6 separate regions of the Homo sapiens genome follow, and regions 1, 2, 3, 5 and 6 are each linked to region 4. Evidence: promoter capture Hi-C in 16 types of primary human blood cells and fetal thymus (Javierre and others, 2016). All regions are on one chromosome and are shown on one strand. Each heading gives the region's core, a stretch centred on a gene start or on the middle of the fragment in contact. The rest is flanking DNA. Distances are from core to core; before and after follow the strand shown.

Evidence for each region. Contacts are between HindIII fragments. The CHiCAGO score rates a contact against its expected background, and 5 or more counts as called.
Region 1: a contact is called between a fragment that was not itself captured here and the fragment with the promoter of TRAPPC8 in region 4, in 2 of 17 cell types (total B cells and naive B cells). The highest score is 5.4, in total B cells.
Region 2: a contact is called between a fragment that was not itself captured here and the fragment with the promoter of TRAPPC8 in region 4, in 1 of 17 cell types (total CD4 T cells). The highest score is 5.1, in total CD4 T cells.
Region 3: a contact is called between a fragment that was not itself captured here and the fragment with the promoter of TRAPPC8 in region 4, in 1 of 17 cell types (total B cells). The highest score is 7.8, in total B cells.
Region 5: a contact is called between a fragment that was not itself captured here and the fragment with the promoter of TRAPPC8 in region 4, in 4 of 17 cell types (non-activated CD4 T cells, total CD4 T cells, naive CD4 T cells and 1 more). The highest score is 6.9, in non-activated CD4 T cells.
Region 6: a fragment that was not itself captured here is called in contact with the fragment with the promoter of TRAPPC8 in region 4 in 2 of 17 cell types (naive CD4 T cells and non-activated CD4 T cells); the score reaches 6.7 in naive CD4 T cells.

The regions. Positions count from the first base shown.
Region 1 is chr18:32,759,652-32,763,189 of GRCh38, forward strand. The region is part of intron 2 of KLHL14 (kelch like family member 14); the gene reads right to left. Among named protein-coding and RNA genes, the nearest start is that of KLHL14, 12 kb to the right of the region's middle. The HindIII fragment of the contact is 2,364 bases long and covers 1,084-3,447 here.
Region 2 is chr18:32,543,466-32,546,706 of GRCh38, forward strand. No RefSeq gene overlaps it. Among named protein-coding and RNA genes, the nearest start is that of GAREM1, 74 kb to the left of the region's middle. The HindIII fragment of the contact is 2,670 bases long and covers 624-3,241 here.
Region 3 is chr18:32,866,149-32,869,422 of GRCh38, forward strand. The region is part of intron 3 of LOC105372058 (a long non-coding RNA gene); the gene reads left to right. Among named protein-coding and RNA genes, the nearest start is that of KLHL14, 95 kb to the left of the region's middle. The HindIII fragment of the contact is 694 bases long and covers 1,093-1,786 here.
Region 4 is chr18:31,941,432-31,945,040 of GRCh38, forward strand. TRAPPC8 (trafficking protein particle complex subunit 8) reads right to left here and starts at 1,697. Exons shown (of 29, transcript NM_014939.5): 1 at 1,177-1,697. The coding sequence starts at 1,333. RefSeq lists enhancers at 592-1,370, 1,472-1,681 and a silencer at 1,302-1,421. The HindIII fragment of the contact is 12,839 bases long and covers 404-3,609 here.
Region 5 is chr18:32,464,146-32,467,501 of GRCh38, forward strand. The region is part of intron 1 of GAREM1 (GRB2 associated regulator of MAPK1 subtype 1); the gene reads right to left. Among named protein-coding and RNA genes, the nearest start is that of GAREM1, 5.1 kb to the right of the region's middle. The HindIII fragment of the contact is 6,104 bases long and covers 1-3,356 here.
Region 6 is chr18:32,482,064-32,485,831 of GRCh38, forward strand. No RefSeq gene overlaps it. Among named protein-coding and RNA genes, the nearest start is that of GAREM1, 13 kb to the left of the region's middle. The HindIII fragment of the contact is 2,192 bases long and covers 945-3,136 here.

The DNA of each region.
Region 1 (3,538 bases), core at 1,016-3,515, 820 kb after region 4:
AATTACTACACAATACAGCTGTTTTAAGATATCTGCATTATAACCTTCTCTCTCTCTCTCTCTCTCTCTCTCTCGTCATTTTGGAGTGAATGCTTATGAAACCTTAGGAGAGGGAGATTACAGGAATTGCCACTGACAATGGTGGTACAGTTGCTATAGTAACCAATCCACCAAATTCATCTGTGCTACTGGGCACACACTTCTGCCTCTGTAATACACCCATACTGACTGGGATCTCTCACTGTATCAGTGAACTCCTGTTAATGCATATGAAATAGAAAGTGGTGAGGGCCTAGTGTACACCTGATAGCATTAAAGTGTTTTCTTCAAAGTTTCCCTCTCTGACTCACAGGTTTACATTCCCTTTTTTAATCCCATCGCTTTGCACAGGATGCTCTGATGTGGTTGGTTTTGAGGGGTGCTCAAAATCAGAGCCAAACAGCCCTCTGTTGTTTTTGTTCTAAGAAGTATTTACAAATATGACTATTTTCTTTCTGGTGACAAATTGACCCTCCAGCCTAATAATTCCTCACTCAGCACCAGATTGTGAATTGTGGACCATCCCACCCTGACCCTGACATTCAAAATAGACTTTATCTGATAAAAAAACACATCTCAGAAATCACTCTATAGAAAATTTGAAGGTAGCACCCAACAATATGTGATTGGACTGTGTACACACAGACATACACACACACACACACACACACATATACACACACACACAAACATGCACATCCATCTTTCCATATTTTTCAACAATGCCTCTACATTTTCAAGGACTTTTCTCAGATATTGCTGCTTTCTCTCTTCTTCCTCCTCTCCATTTCACTGGCCTCGCCTGTCTTCAGAGGCACCTGAAGGCACATAAGGCAGGGAAGTGAAACCGACTGTAATTCTTCAGTTCACTTCTCTGCAGCCTCCAGTGAGCCAGTCTCCATACGGTGGCCCAGCTGAGCTCTGAGGAAGTTCAGAGTCCCCGCGCAGGTGCAATTTACCAACCCCTCACAGGCGCTCTGGGAGCAAAGAAGCCAGACATATGCATGTGAAAGGCTTTGGGAGCAGCAGAAAAGAAAGCCTCTAAGCTTAAGTTTATGAGATTAAAAAGAAGAGGAACTCTCTTCTATGAAAGGAAAAAATGAAAGACATTTATAACTCAACCGGCCATCATTTTCCTTTTGAAGAATGAAATATAAATTGCTGAGAGCTGTCGAAAATTCTAATGTTCCCACTTCCTTCTGATGCCCTTGGTTTCACCTTTGGTTCCCTCCAACTTCATTCCTCTGGTGTTAACAGTCTCTGACTATTTCTGTGCTATCAGTGATATCATGAATATGTCCTAGTGATTTTTTGATAGGCAAAAGTGCATTCAGGTAAATTTTGCTAAATATGTCTTTTAAAATTAATAATATACAAACTTAAAACAGCATTTTATGTTTAGTTTTTCTACAATCTCAGCTGATCTTTCTACAAATGCTGCTAAGTATTTAGAACTATAATTATTAACCCATTTTACTGCTGCAGGACTCGGCTAACGTGGAGCCAGGCCACTCATTTAGGTTTATGATTTCAAAGGCAGCAGTGTTTCCACAATAGTATTACTTCTTTTTTCAGTTCAACTGAAAAACATGCTGATTTTTCCATTTTAAAATGTATCTATGCAGTAAATAATCCTTAGCAGGGCCTACAACTTCCTGTATGATTTGGACAACCCCTCTTGCCACAAATGTAGCCACACATCCTTTTTTTTTTTTTTTTTTTAAGTTCCTGGAAGGTGCCAAGCTCTTTTCTGCCCAGGAGTTTTGCAGGTGGTCTTCTCTCAGCTTTGCCTCTCCAATTGCATATTTTGCCTTCTCCCCAGGCCTATTACTTAGAATGGCTCATCTTTCAAGGCTCATCTTATACCTTTGTTGCAGAGAAAGTCTTCTCCAGTCACTCGGATAAGGTTACAGCTGTCTGTTATAGGGTGTCCCAGCCCATGCCACTTTTCTCTTGTAGGTTATGTATTGCCAGTGTGATTATTTTGTGTTACTATTTACTCTTTCTCTTTTTACTGTAAATTGCATGCAGTCAGAAATGTGGCTGTCTTGTTCAACTCTGTATCTCAGAACTTAGCTCAGAGCTTGATGTACCATATACGTTCAATACAAATGTGGGGGTTATTCCATAGCACAACTTCTGATTAGTAGTAAATTGCAATGCATCACTCCAAGTTTCCACTATCAGTGTGACACAGTCATGGGCCTGCATTTAGAAAGCTGTCAGAGGTCCTGAAGTTCTCCTTGCTTCTCAGGTCTTTTGCCAGGTCAAATTACATGGGAATTAAGATGATTTTGCAATGAATGCAGTTATATGTTTATCTCCTTATATTCACAGAATGGGTTGTCCCCTTTGAACTCCGAGACTTCTGAAACTACTGCATTACCTAGCACAACAATGGATTTAAAAAAAAAACAACAAAAAATCTTATTAACTCAGATTACATATACATAGTTATTGAACCGAATGGTATTATAGGCGGTAAGGTACCATGATTGACATTTTTTTCTTGTGAAAATATTTTCTTTCTTTTGAGGACTGACTTTTTTTTTCTTTTTAATGAAATTCTGTCTATAACTCTAAATTATATAAGGTTGGGTATGCCATGATTTAAGTGTTTCTTGATTTGTTCTTATCTTGATTTGTAAATGTTGAACACCTAATTTCCAGTCTTTAGAAATTTCTTGCCCATCTTCTTTTTCTTCCTTTTTCAGATAGTTCACATTCTTAATAACTTGTTTGATACCCCTTATTTCCTTGCATTTTTCTTACTTCTTGTTTTTTCTTCTTTTTCTCATTACCCTATAATTTATTTTCTCTTTTTACGGTAGGCATTCCATAATACCTTTCTGCTTTACTTCTAGTGTTGCAAATAGTTCTAATCCTATTTGCATTAATATTATTTGTGAAGAGATAAACCTCTCTGCTATTTACAGTAAAATGAACACACTCATTGTATCATCTGTACTACAACAGATAGCCTTTCTCTGGTTAAGTGATCCTCCTACCCATATCAAAATAGTGTTTTTTTGTTTTAATTTAAAGAAATCATCATTAGTAATGCCTGTATTGTGAATTATCTTGGAAATCAATGGAAAGGACATGGAAAATGAACATGTTTTCTGAATTCTAAGTGAATGAGAGAAGACAAACATTTATGATCTAACAATTGTTAAATTGATTTTCTTGAAACAAAATATAAACAGAATAAATTTTCAGTTAGAGAGGTCTTATTTTGTTATTAAAATATACAGGTATTTTTATAATTCCAACTTCTACCTGGTTATTTAATCACCTGAAAGTATCCCCAACATGAATAGTGTTTTACTGTCACAAAAACAAATCTGACACCCCTTTAGTACTTCAGTGCACAGAAATCCAGGGAAACCAACTTTTGGTTCAAATTCAAGCTTCAAGGTTTTTTTTTTTTTTTCATAGTTAAACAGAAATTTCTTATTTTTCTTTCTTTTCTTTATTTAAAGTGCATTGGCTCATTCTA
Region 2 (3,241 bases), core at 709-3,208, 600 kb after region 4:
TCCTGCAAACTATGTCATAGGCACATTTTTAACCTCTCTAAGCCCCAGTTTTTTTCCATAAAAATGGGGATAACTACTAGTAGAATAGGTTTTGGTTATGGATGAAAAGAATATCTTGAAAACATCTGTTGTATCATAAGTGGCCAATTAATATTGGTTTTCTTGTATTATGTTGTTAGAAACAACATGGTACAACTAAAAAACATGAACTTTTGATGGAAACAGACTTGAAATTGACTCTACAATTAACGCCAGTGCGGCCTCTCCTTGCACAAGTTACATACATCTTTGAGCTTCAGTTTCCTCATTTATAAAATTATCGAATAACTGCAAAACTTAAAAGAAAAACCATATATTTATATTAAACTCATGGCTCATATCAGTATAAGTTCTTCTCTACTTGGGCTACTAGAAGTCAAATATTTTATAAAAGCAAAGTAAGCAACAATAACATTTTGAATTCTGATAACAGGAGAAACTTAGATTAAAAAGGACTAGCACTTCTTAGGTAAAGGAACACTTACCCGTAGTTCTTCAGATCTACTGTCAAGATAGATTATTTATCAAATGCAGTGATCGAGAATTAAAGGATAAGATTAGGGATCAGAAGTCCCTTTTTGATAAGCTTTCAAGAAGAAGAATCTAGGGACGGGGCTATTTTTACTCATAGATTTCAAAGTTAAAAAATGACTAGCATCTCTTCTCTTGAGTCTGTGACAGTTTCAGAGAAACCTGGCTTACAGGGACAGAAGGACATCTTTCTAACTTAAAAGTGGTTAAAGGGAGTAAAGCAGTCCCACCCTTCCTTGGTATGTGCATTGGTACTGAACATTTTCCACTTTACATAGAACTTGAGAACTTGAGACCTTATCATGAAACCATATATTTGAGGCTCTATTCTTTAAAAAAAAGAAAAGGTTACAAGAAATTATAGAGGGAGCTTGCACAGCTGGCAACTGTTAGCAAACAAACCAAACCAAGAACAGCAGGCCAACATAAATTCTCACCAGAAAATACTGGGTGTGAGTCCCTTCTGGCCAAAAAAAAAAAAATTCAGTAAATCCAAAGCAAGGGATTTGAGGGGCCGCGATTGATTTTTTTGTTGAACTCCTACAGTTTCTCACTTCAACTTTATGAATAAAATTTAAGCAATAAAGACAATCTACATTATGTTATGGATTCTTACCCTGAGGTACTGAATACTTTCAATGAATATTATATTCTGTCTCCCAGTCACAGATCAAACAGCCTATTGAAATTTACTTCCCTAGACTGTATTCCTTGTGAAAATAAAGGAATCTTTAAGTTGTTGCTCTAATGCAGAGAGAAGGGAAGGCTCAAAACTTAATGGGCTTCTCAGACTCAAGATACCCAGGCTTCAAAAGTGAGTTTAGGGGCCGGGCACGGTGGCTCATGCCTGTAATCCCAGCACTTTGGGAGGCTGAGGTGGGTGGATCACCTGAGGTCAGGAGTTCGAGACCAGCCTGAACAATGTGGTGAAACCCCATCTCTACTAAAACTAGACACAGCTCTGCCTTGTGTTACAACCTGTACTTGTGTTGGTATTTTGGGAGGGTAAAATGTTGGGTGATGATAGGCGTGCCTTCAATAAAAGTGTGACTGTTTACATGATACAACTAATCAATTCATTAAAAAAGGTTTAGAATGTGAGGAATGAAACGTTTCTTAAAGTCATACCATCCAGAGTCTGTCATTGTTAACATTTTGGTTTACTTTTCTCCAGTATCCTTTTTGGAGGCTGGAAGAGGCCATTTATTTCTCAGAATAGTCATACTAATTATGCATCTTTGAATTTGGCATTTTTCATTATCTATATTTCACCTTATTTTAAATTTTCCCCCAAACATAATTTTGATGGCTTTTTAAAAATTTGGATAAGTCCTTATTTTCTTTGTGAATCCCTTTCCTTTTGCTGTGCCTTCTTCTCTACCTTTCCATCTCTACAATCTCCAGATACGTATTTTATATGAACTGCCAAGTATAGGGAAAAAGAGAGGCTCTGAAAAAAAGGAGCTGTTTTCAATTAAATACTGAACTGTCATAAAATAAGCATCAACATTACGTTAAGTAGACCGACGAGTCTACTATTACTATCCTGTTCTAGAGCAGATAAATTTTTTTTAAATGTTGGTTTGTTAATTTCTCCTTAATAAGTAATTCATGCTCACTATAAGCAACAGTCAAATTAAATGAAATTATTATTATTTCTCTGAGACAAGGTCTTGCTCTATTGCTCAGGCTGCAGTGCAGTGAATGTGATCACAACTCACTGCAGCCTTAACCTCCCCAGGCTTGAGTGATTCTCCTACCTTAGCCTCCCTAGTAGCTGGGACTACAGGCATGCATCACCAAGCCTGGCAAAGTTTTCATATTTTTTGTAGATACAGGGTTTCCCCATGTTGCCCAGGCCGGTGTCAAACTCTTGGACTGAACTGATCACCTGCCTTCGCTTCCCAAAGTGCTGCTCTCTCATATAGGGAATAAAAGCTCCTTTCTCCTAAATTTTACTCCTTAGGGGTAAAATTTACTCTGCATAGCCTTCCAGACTTTTAATAATGCATATCAAACACATACGTAAGCACTCTGTTTTTAAATAATGTGAGATTATTCTAGATACAGTAGATACACTGCAGAACACTGTATCTTCTAGATATTCTAGAACACTGTTCTACAGTGTATCTAGAATAATGTTTTTACTTTCTGTGTCATAGCCTTCTTTCCACTGAGTTAATACAGTTCTCCATCTGGTCTTTTGACAAATATATAATACTTCATTGTAGAAAGGAGCCCTAATTTAACCATCTCTAATTGATGGACATTGAGTTATCTATTTCTTTGTTATATTAAATAGTGCTGCAATTAATATCCTCATGGATGTATTCTTGATTTCTTAAAGAAACGCTCCAAAAGTAGAATGGCTTGGTCAAAATGGCTTGGATACTTTTGTTTTGTTGGAAGATGGCAGATCACTGTCTTGAAAGGTTCTTTCATCTCACCAACAATGGATGAGAATGTCTATTTCCCTACACATGTTCTTTTCAAAAGATGACAATTACGGAGTCTGATGAAAATACTCTCAAGATACAATTTCCTATTATGTGATATAGCTCTACATTTCTCCCTCTTCTCTGTTGCACACCAAATGAAAAGACGTTTTGGAGAAAGGCAGGAGGGAAGGAGAGGTAAGAACGAACAGAGGAGAGAGGTGGAGACAAAGAGT
Region 3 (3,274 bases), core at 190-2,689, 920 kb after region 4:
GTAAGAAATATCTGCTGTCCCATGTCGTTTACTTCTGATTAGAATTGTACCTGGAAAGGCAGCCCTTCCAGGTACTGAAAGCTGAGGATCCCTAAAGCAAAAGTCACAAGGAAGCAGCTTACATTACGTAGAGATGGAGAGTATGGGGAGTAGAGTTGGTCTGCCAGTGTTCAGATAGTGACCCTACTTCTCATTAGCCATGCTATCTTGAGTAATTACTTCATTTCTATGTGTAAATTAAGGTAGATAATAGTGCCTTCCTTAAACACATTAAAATTATTTAAAACCATGTGTGGCCTATGAAAACTGCTCAATAATCATAAGTTTTCATGATTATTTCCCAGTTATAATAGATCTCCCAAGCTCAATATCAAATTAGCTGTTATCTGGACAACACAGACAATAGTTCAGGCCCAAGCTGTTACTTCCTTAATAATCTGGAGCTTTTAGGAATCAGGCATTTCATTTGCTTAGTTTATCTGGGTAATACAATGTACCTTGTCATTGAGTTAGTGATGAGGTTAAAGTTATGGTATAAAGATGAATAGGTATCTGGGAGATAAGTGGATTGGGGTTACACCTATAAGTGATACCTAAAGAAACCATTGGGCAGGTAAGCACTATTCAACCCTATTACCAAAGCATGGCATGTGTGGATCCTATGGACAGCTTGTACTAGGAGGAAGCTTTATAATTTGATATTTCACATGATAGCCTGATTAAATTTCTTGCATGTCCACAAACATATATATGTATATTTTAATATTCATGTACATGTAGATACAGAGACAGAAAGAGACAGCTCATAAGACAAAAGGTATTATCCTTATAGGTCTTATCAGTCAAAGATCTGGAGAAAACAACAACAGACTAAAATATTTGCACAAATACCTAGAGAGCGATGAATGCTTTTGGAGCAACCCTGGTCAAAGCAGCATGTTCTTGTTCATTTTTTTTTCTTTTTAAAGTCCTCCCCTTGCTGTTCTTGTCCCATAGGTAAAGAAGTGGAGTTGATTTTACAAATGACTATTGCTCTGATGTTTTTAAAGAGCTTCAGGAAAATAAGTGAATTCCTACTGGAGTTGACACTCAAGCTTTCTTGAGAACAAACCCTCTTGCCTACCCTTCTGATGTGGCAGCTTTTCAAGCAGTTTCCCTTCCTTATGAAAGGAAAGGATTGTGTTATTATTAGAGGAATTATCAAGCCGTCTGCACTTCTTTTCTATAAGAAAAGAGAATAGGGTGTCAATCCTGTAAATGCCACATTGTTTTTTATTTTTAAAAAAGGTTCTTTCTTTTTTTAACATTGCGATGAGATCCTGATATATACAACCCTAAAATTATTCACGTGCTGCTATTGGGAAGTCCCCCGAAACCTAGGGCAGTGTGAAAATGAGAAGAAGGTAATATATTTTTTAAAAGCAGGTGGTTGAGTGTTTTAACCACCTCTGTTCTATGATCATGGAGAAAACACCCCTTCCCCCTACCCCATATCCGCAAAGGATTCTAAGGAAACAGTTTTGAGTCTGTTCTCCTAGGACCGCAGCTATTCAGGCCCTCTTCATTCTTTTAAGGTGGATATTGACAACCTAGCAGGTCACAGAAGTGTGTTTAGTTTCACTCTGGGACAAAGAAACAGGGAAAGTCAGTCACATTTTGTGTACGTGTGTTTGTGCATGTGCACACAGTGTCATGCAACCTTATGTGTGTGTGTGTTTGTATGTGTGTGTACGTATGTATAGAGATTGGATACGAATTTGCCATGGCTTTTGTTAAACAGCAAATAAGCTTTGCCCATTTGGACATGCTATCAGAATTCTGAATTTCTGGTTAAAAATCTCTCCGCTTGAACATGTCTGCTGGAAATCACTGCCGTTGCTGTTGCCAGGGGTCATTAAATGTACAGGAGAGGAGGCGAGGCAGAGATGCTCTTCCTTGTCTTAAATGAGCATGGGTTAGTGCAGAACACTGGTGGATGAGCAAGTTATATACAATCCCAGGGACTCCGGTCCCCCTCCTGGGGACTGCGAAATTCTATGCCACTGTGAAGCAGCTTAGAAATGAGCCGACAAAGAAGTCCGTTGACTTTAACGTGAATATGCTCGAATCACACAGAAGACAAGAATAAATCACCTTACAACTGCGTCTAGTGTAATTTTCCTGTCTCCTTCCAGTTCCCCCACCCCCACCCCTTTTGTTCTTTGTGGATGTTTTTGTTATCAGCAGCATCATTGAGAAGCTGCCTTTTTGGGATTTTTCTATAGGTGACTAGGGTGTGAGCTAGGTGCTGCTGCAGTATGAATCTTTTAAAAGGCGCCTAAGAAATATTTAAGACCCTGGTCTAGGAGGAACGGCTCTCCCAGGCATAATTTTTGGTGCTGGTTGCAGCAGGGAGCGTATGCTGGGAGGAAAGTATTATTTTTCTAAATGGAAGGTGTCAGATGGTCACGCAATGTGACTGCATGTTCGAGATCACTGCCTCCCATCTGCAATTTGTGACGTGTGAAAGATTCTGCCCAAATGTGCTCACCAACTGGAAATCCTCGGCACTTTTTTTCCTTATCAGGAGAGACCAAGATAACCAATGGTTTACAGATCAGGGATCCTATCAAATTAATATCACTGTAGGATAAAATCTGTTTTAAATACAACTCCTAAACTCCAGCAAAGTTAACTAGTACAAACAAGTTCATTCATCTGATTAAGAACCGCTGCTCAGGAAACAACAACAAAATGAAATCTGCTTATCACTGTCTCTCACTTCAAAATAGTCTTATGTTTATAGCTTTCACAAACAGGCTGGATCCAAAAGATGATATATTTTTCCATGCTAATTAATATAGACCAAATGACAGCATCTACCAGGACTGAAGCAAAGCATTTTCAAATCATTGTTGGTTTTTCCTTGTCTTATACTCCTCTGAGTCTTTTTCCAATTAAACACGGCAAAACTCAGAAAGAGCAGACTATTTAGCCATTGCCTAAGTAAGGGTTCTATGTTTTGAGCTGAGTTCGAAGCTTTGAGTTCTGTTTATTCTTGGCTAGGCATAATTCCCAGCTTCTCAAATAAAAGGGTCGTAAAAAGGCTCATGAGGTGCTTCAGACATCAAACAGCTCATACAAAACAATATCTTGATGAGTTAAGTGCAAATGAATCAGAAACATAATGGGCTAAAATTTCCTTGTTGTGCACAGGGGTTGACATTTCAAGGAGAGAAGTTCTTGGCTCTGCAAAGCACACCTTGAGTTTTATCACCTTCGACCCTTGGAAAGG
Region 4 (3,609 bases), core at 447-2,946:
AAACTCCATCTCAAAATAAATAAATAAATAAATAACAAAAAAATAAAAAACGTAGGGCATTTTGTTGCTCTTAAGTCCAACACTGAAGGAACTGAGACTGATGGCTACGATACAGGCTAAAGAAAATCCAAAAGTTTCCAAACTTTGTTTTTTTGGACAGCTCCCTCTCTCCGCTAAAAACAAAAGCTAATTTATAATGGAACTATTCTCCCAAAAAACATGGTAGCGCAAAAATGGTACAGCACTGATTTTTTTTGTGGATAAGTCATATTAAGCTAACAAACATCACAGTCGTTTGCCTGACACAGGCTTATTATGAAACCCTTCAGTTCTTACCGACCTTAACAAAAAAAACTTTACTTGGACTTTGTTGTTTGCAAGATATTGGCTAAAACATGCTTGAAGCTTTACCACATTATTTTCTCCTAATAAAAAAATCCAAAACTGGAGAAAACGGGTAGCTTCTTAACAAGACATTCATTAACAAGAGAAGACATTTCCATCCCTATAACTATAGATAACTCCAAATATCCAGGTTAAATTAACCACAACTTGGGCTTGCTTCCTCTTCCTTAGGGCAAAAAGCTGCTTCAAGTTTTATTCTTCTTATAATACTTTTAATTTTCTTGAGAGGTTAAGCAAAATACCGTATAGCTAAGAATATATTAGTAAAACAGCTACACGGTAGTTCAGACAGAGATGACCCTCAACGCTACAAGAATGTAATAACATCCACAACTACTTTCAAAGTCCAGTTTAACATCCAAGGGAGGATGACAGGTCTTCCTTACTCAGACCCTGTCGGTCTAAGAGGCAGCATTTTCCTACCTTAGCTGCTTTGCAAGTGCCTAATTCCTTCGCTATGGCCGTGGAGAACAGTCTCAATGCCGTTCTCGAAGACTCACGTTTATCTTTGCACCAATTACTTAACGACCTAGGTTGTCCGAGGAAGAAAGGAAGTGCCCAGAGAAACTGGAGCTTAGGACTGCGCTGTCTTGACAACCTCACGGTCCCTCCTCCAGCCGCCCCCGGAGCACCGCGGGGCCACAGCCCCAGACGCCACGGTACCGGCTCCAGGACGTAAACACTGCCCTTCTCTTCCCTGCCCGCCCGCAACTTCCTTCTCCCGACCACGGCTTTGCGGGAGCCCACTGGAAAAGGGAGGATACCACATACCCTCGGAAGTGAGGCGGGAGAAGGGCTTAAGCAGCTCCGCGAAGCTGAGGTGATTGAGACGAGTGAGCCGCTCGGCTTCGTCGCTGCACAGCGCAGCGACACAGGGGACGAAGGAGTCCGGGATTAGCTCCTGCACTGATTGTACACACTGGGCCATCGCCGCAGCACAGGCAGCGGCGGCGCCCGCCCTCCGGCCCACCCTGCGAGGTTATCCTGCGGCTGCAGCAGCTACCGCCGCCGCCCGCCGGCCTGGCCCGGCCGGGCGGGGCCCCGAACGCACTGGAGCCTAGAAACAAGAAGGAACAGACGCCGCCGCTTCGGTTTCTGGGGCACAATCCACTGACCCCCCCCTTCCCGTCACCGCCGCTTCTCAGCGCTCGTCCCCGCGTGCTCGCATTCCACCCCGATAGGTGGAGACGCCGACAGTCACCACTTAGTCCTTCGGACGGCAAAACCTTGGTCACTGCCCGGCCGGAACCGCCATGTTGAGGCCGAACCCTGACCAACCGGCAGTACTACTCCCAGCTGCCCCCGCGCGCGTCCCTCACGTGACTGTGTTAAAGGAGACGGTAGGGGCAAGGGAAGAGAGCTGAGGAGAGGGAAGTGAAAAACGACGGAGGCCGGTTGGGAGGCTGGAGCCGGAAGTGTTGTGACGGAAGCTCCCTGGGCGGGGCGGGGCTACAAGTGCGGTGGGCGGGGGCGGGGGCGGGGGCGGGGGCGGGGGGAGGTGCACAACTGTAGGCCGGGTTCTCAAGCTCGCCCTTAGCAGAGCAGAGCTGAGAGCCACCTACTAGCGGCAGGTGGAGCCTCGAGACGGGTGCTGTCGTGGTGATGGAGGCGCACGCTCGCTTCCCACGCAGTTTGGCCTTTTTGACGTCCCTGGCTGTTGTGGGCAACCGATTTGGTTGGTCGCGCTGCTTCCTACGCTCGCCGGCGGAGCAGCTAGTGGCACCTGCTCGGAGAGAGGGAGTGGATCTCTCGGAAGTGCTTGGGGTTTCGCTGAAGCGGACCTGAACAGACCATGTGTCCTTTAAATACAGCCATGCTTTTAGAAACGGACTGTCACTTTATGTGGACTCAACCATTGAACAGAATGTGTGCTTTTGTGAGTGCTGCAATTCCTTCAAGTGTAATTGCGCTACTGCATTTTTGTTGGTCGCAGGGAAGGGGTGTGCCTGCAAATGTCCGCGTGGTTCGTCCTCAGCCTCTTCCTTTTTACACTGTGCTAGGATGTTTACTTGCTTGTGGTGGAGGTAGGGGAAGCCAGTATTTGTGTACTGTGTACTGTCCTGAACCGGCTTTCATTCCTAACTTTTCAAAGATTGCTTTAAAGGGGGGGGGGCGCGGGTCAAATATTGTTTTAAAGGGGGGGACGGGGTGAGGTCAATGGTGTGTGCCTTGTAAGTAGAAATGAATGAAAGGAATTTTACTAATGTGTCACTCAATTGTTTGAGCTCCTTCTGTTTTGCATGCCAAAAATATAAGGCAAGGAAAAATGTATCATTCTATCATGATTTTATGGTGCTCTAATTAAAGGTGTCTTCCCCAACGTCAATGTCTCAAATTTTTCGACTTCTTGACACCCTCAGGTTTTCACTAAGGTAATAATTTATGACAAGTAAGATGTGTGCTTCTCATGTAAGTTGATAAATGGGAGGTAGGAAGGCACAGTAGGACATATTGATGACATGCCTTGGCTACAGATTAATTTATAAGAGAGTCCATCACTTTAGGAGATTTATTTGCCGAAGTTAAGTACGAGCCCAGGAAACAGGTCTATGCCTTTCTTCGAAGATGATTTTGAGTGCTCCAAATTTAAAGGGGAAAGGGCGGGATATTGAGAAGCACACCGTTTTCATGTAAGGGGGCGGTAGGAGAAAATAGTAATTCTTGCCTTTCTCTGGCTCAGTGAATCTGCATTTTTTACATAAGATGACATAAAATGGGCAGAGGAAGAATGTGGGAGTCTGCATTTTTCATAAGATAACAGACAAAATGGGGTAGGGGAACAATCAGATAGGCATTTGTGTCTGGCGGGCTGGGGTGGCCACCTGTAAAGATAAGCTATCAATTTGCATTGCCATGAAGTTTTAACAGCACACTAAGAATTTCCTTGTGGGCAAAATACGGGGGAGAGATGTAGCTTTTCATCTTGCAGCAATCTTATTTAGGAACCAAAAGGGGGAGGCAGATTTGCGTGACCAGTCCCAGCGTGACTTTTCCCTTTGGCTAAATCAGTTTGGGGTCCCAAAATTTAATTTCCTTTTGCAAGAGATAACATGTTACACACAATCCCTTTTCAATGCTTCTGATTCACTTCCTTACCCTTTATAATGTGAGAATCTCACATAATTTAGTGTGACTCAAGTTATAAGATACATTTTTTATAACAGGACTCCCAAATGCAAACATACTATTTATCTAGTACTCTAA
Region 5 (3,356 bases), core at 257-2,756, 520 kb after region 4:
TTGGGCGTGGTAGTGCATGCCTGTAAGCCCAGCTACTTGGGAGGCTGAAGCAGGAGAATTGCTTGAACCCAGGAGACAGGAGTTACAGTTAGCCAAGATTGAGCCACTGCACTCCAGCCTGGGCGACACAAAAAGAAAAAAAAAAGATGTAAGTGTCTAAGCTCACTGTTTCGGTACCATTTGGTAAAACTCACCTGTGATTCTGGATTAAATTAAAAGTTCCTGGCCAGATGTGGTGGCTCAGGCCTACATAGTCTCAGGTACCTGAGAGGCTGAGGCCAGAGGATCATCTGAGCCCAGGAGTCTGAGGGCAACCTCAGCAACAAAACGAGAACCCATCTCTTTTTTTAAAAAAGTAAAGTTCCTTTCCAAACTCCTCCAGTCCCTCCGAAGCCCAATCTTGGTTAGATTAGTCAGTTTATAACACTTTCTGTCTGATAAAGACCTTTCGCCACCTTTCTATAACCTGCGGATTACCAGATCAATAACCTGGAATACTCAAAACGAAACACACTCAAGTCACCCAGAGCATTTCTCTCAGCTTCTTCTTCTGTACAAAGACAATAAAACCTGCTGCTACCTAAATGATATGCTATACTCTGAAGCCTCCCTCAACTGATCCGTATCTACTACAGCCATCTCACACATGTATTTGACATATATTATTGCATTTAATTCCTATAATAAGTAGAATGTAAGCACCACAAAGACATACAGTTTTGTCTGATTTGTTCAGTGCTATAGTCCCAACACCTGTAACAGGGCTTGTCACATAGCAGGGGCTTAGTTAAGTGTTAGTTGACTGAATAAACAATTTACTGAATGAAGAATAGGGGCAAGTATAACGTCTAGTTTTCCTACACGGGAAAACTACAAATCAAAGGGATTACAAGACCTGACCAAGATCACATGACTATGAAATGGCAGTACCTCTAACAGAACGAAGGTCTCTTGGCTCCAAATCCAGTATTCTTTAAATTATCATTCCCCCCACCCTGGCCATGTGTACTCTCTTAAAATACAGAATGCCAGGAGAAATGAAGCCACAAGATGAACACCGAACATCTTCCAAGAGCAAAACTAAGTTACTTTGGGAAAAAGAAAAGAAAAGAAAAAGAAAAAGACATCAATTACAAAGTAGATTTTGAGAACTTACTTCAATTTCAATGATAAAACATGGATCCGAGAAAGACCTCTGATGTTTACAAACAGCCACTTGGAGCCTCCCTGGGGCCTAAGTGTCCATGTTTTTGCTCCTAGAGGCCAGTAAATGATAAAGCTGCAGAAGCCTCTGAGCACAAAGTAAGGACCAAATTTCCCACAGTCCCAACACATCCGGGACTTAGAATCTGATCTGATTCCTATGCACAGCCAGGAAGGAGAGACGGTCACTGCTCCTGTTCTACCTACTTAGCAGTCTCCTACTCTTTTTCTTCCCTCTCCCTGCCTTTCCATGCAGCCTTGGTCTTCCTTTTCCTTTCAGCAAACAGGGCCATTAACACATCTTTTATTGTGCTAGACCAGCATTCTTTAAACTGGGGTACATGTTTGGGGCAAAGCTAACACTTCCCAAGGGTCTCATCATCACAACTGTAAAGGAATCAGTTTCTACATTTGAAATTTCCAAACGTACTCTTGTTTAAAAATTAATGGGCTTGGGTCCACGCTTGCGTTGGACATCCATCCTGTGATGACCTTCACTGTGATGGAAGGAACCTGTCGTTCACCATCTCCCCTTCACAATGGTTCTTCACTCACTTTACAAAAGTAATGCACTTGTATTACCTTCTCTACATCTTTCTAAGATGCATTGCCTGAGGGTGAAAAGACCTTGGGTAGAGAAACAAACAAAGGAACAAAAATATTGATTCGTGTTGCAGGGTTAAAGTCTCCACTATTTAGGTAACAACTATTTCTGTTAAGTCAGGTAATTTCCAATTCTTTGTTTTAAAAACAACCAGAAATCATTAAATATTGAAAGTCTTATGATCAAAATAAATACGAAATACTAGATTTCAATCTATATACTTTTTTTTTTGGTTACAGAGAGTATGGCAGAGTGATCAATAGAATACTTTCAAGCATAAAAATATATTACACTGAGACAGAATTCTATACAGCGGAAGAGAAATGGAGTAAGAATTTAAAGAGATAAAGAAAAGGTGTAAAATGTTTAACTTTCAAAAGATTGATTCTTGAATCTCATGAATTTTTAAACAAATGATATTAGAAATCAAATATATATTTTACTAGAGTTTTTAGAATGATGTAATACTTTAAAATATGAATAGTTACAATATGCTGAGAAATTACATCCCCTGCAAGCATTTAAACTTAGAATGAAAAGTTTTAGCATTTAACTGAAAAATGTGCTTAGGGACAGAGTTTCACCAAATCTTTTAGGAGGCATAGAAGCAAAAAGGTTGTAAGAATGCTACTCTAACACAAGCCTTCAGGGTCTATCCAAGATGAAATGAGGAGGAGAGAGAAAATGAACAATTTCCCACCCATCCAGTTTTGAGTGAGGATGGTTGGGGGTGGAGGATTAGTATTTTCTCCATCCTCTCCTTGGTCCTAAGCACATTTGCTGAACCCAGTTCTAAAGTCAACAGTTTATAAGACTGATGATCAATCAGTTTAAATATCTGATCTTAATTGCACTGCTGACTGGGCTTAGACCTCAGCTGATGAGATACATCTCATCAAATCTCCCAAGGAGAATTGCTAGAGTACCTTTCTCTGGGTTCTCCAGAAAAACTTGTGGGGCAACATTTATAAAGGCTCAATTATTTTGTATTTATCTTATCATACAAAGGCAAATTTCACCATCAAGGATGTAATATTGAACACATCTATCTACCTGGCACTTCAGGAGTGGCATGTATAATGCAAAGAATTGGAGAGTTCTTTATATATTGTGTAGTGAATATTCATTCTAAGGATGGCAAATGTCCTGAAGAGTCATCTCAACAGACACATCTACGTTACTAGGCCCTCAAACCCCAATGTTTTTTTTCTCCTGTTCTGTAACCTCTTCTTCCCCACTGCCTCTTGCCTCTTTTCAGCCACTCCTTTGGCAAGCAGAAAGTTGTATGTATGATGGATGAGGCCAGCACTTAATTTGGTGTCTACACTGTTTTTAAAATATTGACTTTCCAGTCCTCAAGCTCTCAGAGAGACAGTGAACCTATTTAGAGCAGATGTCAGAACAACTTCAACCCTTCTCTCCTTTAGTACCAGGAGGTAGCCCAGTTTGAGATAAGAGGTCAGTCTTCAGAGTCAGAAGGTTGGCTGGAAATTCCACTCCACCATTTACTAGGTACGAGTCTTCAGGCAAGTCAATTTTTCTGAATCTT
Region 6 (3,768 bases), core at 791-3,290, 540 kb after region 4:
CTAAAGTAGCTGAATAGAGGAAAATGAAGACACCAATTCCTGCTAAATGTTTGTAAACTGGTGGATTAGTGGATTACTCCTTCAGAAACTTCTTTTTTTTTTTTTTTTTTTTTTTTTTTTTTTACATCAAGAGCAGGCTGGATGTCAAGGATATGATTAAATGGGTTTTCTCATACCTTGCTCGTGGAAATGTAAATTGGTATAATCTTTATATCTGCATTTGGCTATTTTCAATGAGGTTTTAAATGCCTATTCAGCAATTTAATTTTGGAAAAACTGCCTTAAATAAATTAATCTAACTATAGAAAAGAAGTTTTATGCACAAATATGTTAAGCCCAAAAATGTATTTGTAGTAGCATAGAATTTTAAGATTACTATTGAACTTAAGAAAAAATTATACTCTGATGTGGTAAATCACTGCGTAGATCATAGAAAGACATTATTACCAAGTTTTATTCCAAGAAGTATAAATTATCACTATTCCTAGACAATTTAAATATTGGTGCCATGTGTCTTTCCAAGGTCTCGTCAATTTCATTTAGTCTAGATTATATGATTCATACCTGTCTATAAAGAAAGGTAATGAATTTTTCAATTGCTTCTCATTTTATTTGGGGTTGATCTTTTAATACACTGATACTCTACTGGAAGGAGGGAATGAAACTCTCCAGAGGAATGCATGTTCAATATTACAATATTTTACGTTTCCAGTAGTGAGGGAAGGTATTAATTTCAAAATTATTTGAAGATCTAGAAAGTTGCTCCTAAAATTTTATTTTAATATAGAATCCTCTGATATTATTTGTACTTATAAATAACAATTACTCAAGATATTGAGGGAGTCAAAGATTTCCTATTTATGTCCTGTTATTCTGCCCAGAAAACATCAGTAGGTCAGACCAAATCAGGAAGTGGAAGGCAGATGACAAGAGTACTTATTTAAAGCTTATTTCATGTAAAAATGAAAAAATCCTGATGAAATCCATTTGGTGCATTTGGTGCTTTCAGAATTTTGTAAAGTGTTGTCACTGGGTTTGTGCAATGTCGAAAGGCAAATCCCACATCTGGAGGAAAGATGGCAGTAATTTAATAAAGCATTTGGCCTTTTCATATTAGCTATAATTCCATCTAGAGTTAATAAGGTTTTTTTTAATTAGTAAATCTCTTTGATGTCAAGATATGCATTGACGTAGTTAATTTACTTTTATTTGAAGTAGGCACTCTTGGGTCTCATTGACGTACATGTGAGATTTAGTGCCTTTGGTTTTTCAGGGAGCCCCCTCAGTAAGCAGTTTATATCACCTTTTCTCAGGATTAAAAAAACACTTAGAAGAGTGCAGTTGGCTAAGTGGGACTTTCTGCTTTCTTTACATTATATGGTCAAGGTATAAAATGAAACAATGACAAGGGAAATAGGGTTACTATCTTCTGGGATGAATTCGCATCAGACTCCCTGAGAAGTAAAGATGAGAATGTCCTATTATACTTTTCTGACTAAAGCAATAGAGAAGTTTAAAAGACAGGATAAGAGCTGAGAGAGAGAAAACCTGAAAATGGGGAAAATGGAAAAGGAAAGTCAAGGTGGTGCAAAAGAAGTGGAGAGCTGTGGGGTGCCTGAGGCAAAAACCGAGCTATAGACAAGGGGAAGAACTGTGTTGCTGGGGGTTATCAGAACAGTAAAGGATATGCAGAAAACTTCAATCCAAAATGAGGGAGTTAGGCTTGTGAGAGGAGGGAGGGAAGGGGGAGGGAAATCATAAGATAAAATCTAACTTGTGGCAGTAAGTTTTATTTTCTTGAAAGTGGGTACAGGAATGTAAAATTTTCTTATGCCCTGAGAAATCCATTATTGATGTTTGAGACCCCCAGCCAAATGTATTTTAGTCATCTGTAACGTACACCAGTGGGAACATTGCTTCATACATATGTAGATGCTAATTTAAGCCAACACGTATTCCATTTTAATTACTCGAGTACAAACATCTCACATTTTCCCTTTGGTATAAAATGGAAACTTTTATTGGTTGGTCCAGCAACAGGGGCTACAATATATACAATATGAAGAAAGATTGAGTTGACATTCCATTATGAAACTTTAAGTGTCTACAAGATTACTGTAAAAGTCATCTTAAAAATTATGAGTTATGAATATGTTAGTTGTTTGGGGAGAACAAATTTTTGGTTTGGTTGTACATTTCCTCTATTTTCTATTTTATTAATTTCCAATAATTTATTTACCTTTCACTCTCTTCAGGTTTACTCTATTGTCTTTTAACTTCTGAGCTGAATTTTTAACTAGTTTATTTTCAACCCCTTTTATTCTTTTTTTTAAAAAATAAATGTATCTATAGGCTCCAAATTTCCTTCTAAGAACCACTTTGGCTCCATCCTATATGTTTTGATATATCAAAATATTTTGATGTAACCAAAATAATTTGTAAATTCTATTATGAGTCCCTCTTTGATGAGTTATGAGGGATGTATTAAAACATAAACATCTTGATTTTTTTCCAATTATAGTTGACCCTTGAACAATGTGGAGGTTAGGGGGACTGACCCTCCGTGTAGTTGAAAATTCATATGTAATTTTTGACTCCCCCAAAACTTAACTACGAATAGCCTACTCTTGACCAGAATCCTTACCAATAACATAAACGATCAATTAATACATATTTTCTTTGTTATGTATATTATATACTATATTCTTACCATAATGTAAGCTAGAGGAAAGAAAATGTTATTAAGAAAATCATAAGGAAGGTATATTTACTATTCATTAAGTGGAAGTGGATCATCATAAAAGCCTTTGTCCTCATCATCTTCACATTGAGTAGGCTGAGAAGGAGGAGGAAGAAAGGGGGTTGGTCTTGTTGTCTCGGGGGTGGGAGAGGTAGAAGAAAATCTCAGCATAAGTGGACCCACACAATTCAAATCCATGTTGTTCCAGGGACAACTGTATTGATTTCTAACTGTTGCTTTGTAGTCAAGAAATGTATTAAGTAGATAATTCTTCAAAATTTACTGGACTTCTTTTGTGACTCATTTGTGATCAATTTGCATAAATGTTTTATGTATACTTTAAAGTGTATATTTTCTCTTTGTTCACTGCAGGTTTTTATACTCACCCATTGTACAAGCTTATTAATTTTACTGTTGAAATGTTCTCTATCCTTCTCACTTGTAAAATTGTGTTTGCTTGACATGTTTGTTTCTGATAGAGATTTGTTAAAATTGCCTACTATGATTTGGATTTGTCAGTTTCAACTTGTAACTGCCTTGTTTTTTTCATTTTGGTTTGTCATTGGGTTCATAAAAGTTTATGATTGTCATATCTTTTTGATGTCTTGTTCCTTCTATTCTTTTGTTACCCATCTTTATCTATATTTGCCTTGCATGTTGATATGCTACATCAGCCTTCTTTTGGGTGATGTTTGCCTAATATATATTTCCCTTTTTTTTTTTTACATATTTCTGTGCCATTATGTTTTAGGAATGACTCCTAAAACAATGTGTAGCTGGATTTTCAAAAAATACAATCTAGTCTGAGAAACAGGAGCACTTATTGTGGAAGAATGCCAGGTCTACTTAAGCCATTCCAATTTATCTATTGCCTTAATCTCCTTTGTCTGTTTTTTATAAAATTTCTTAGTGAGAAATACAAGATGCCTCTGTATAACAGTTTTGAGCAAACAGAAATTTAAGTTTACAGAGTAGCACATCAAGATGCCCAACACAAGCAATAAATCCAAGACTTAATTTGGTTTCCT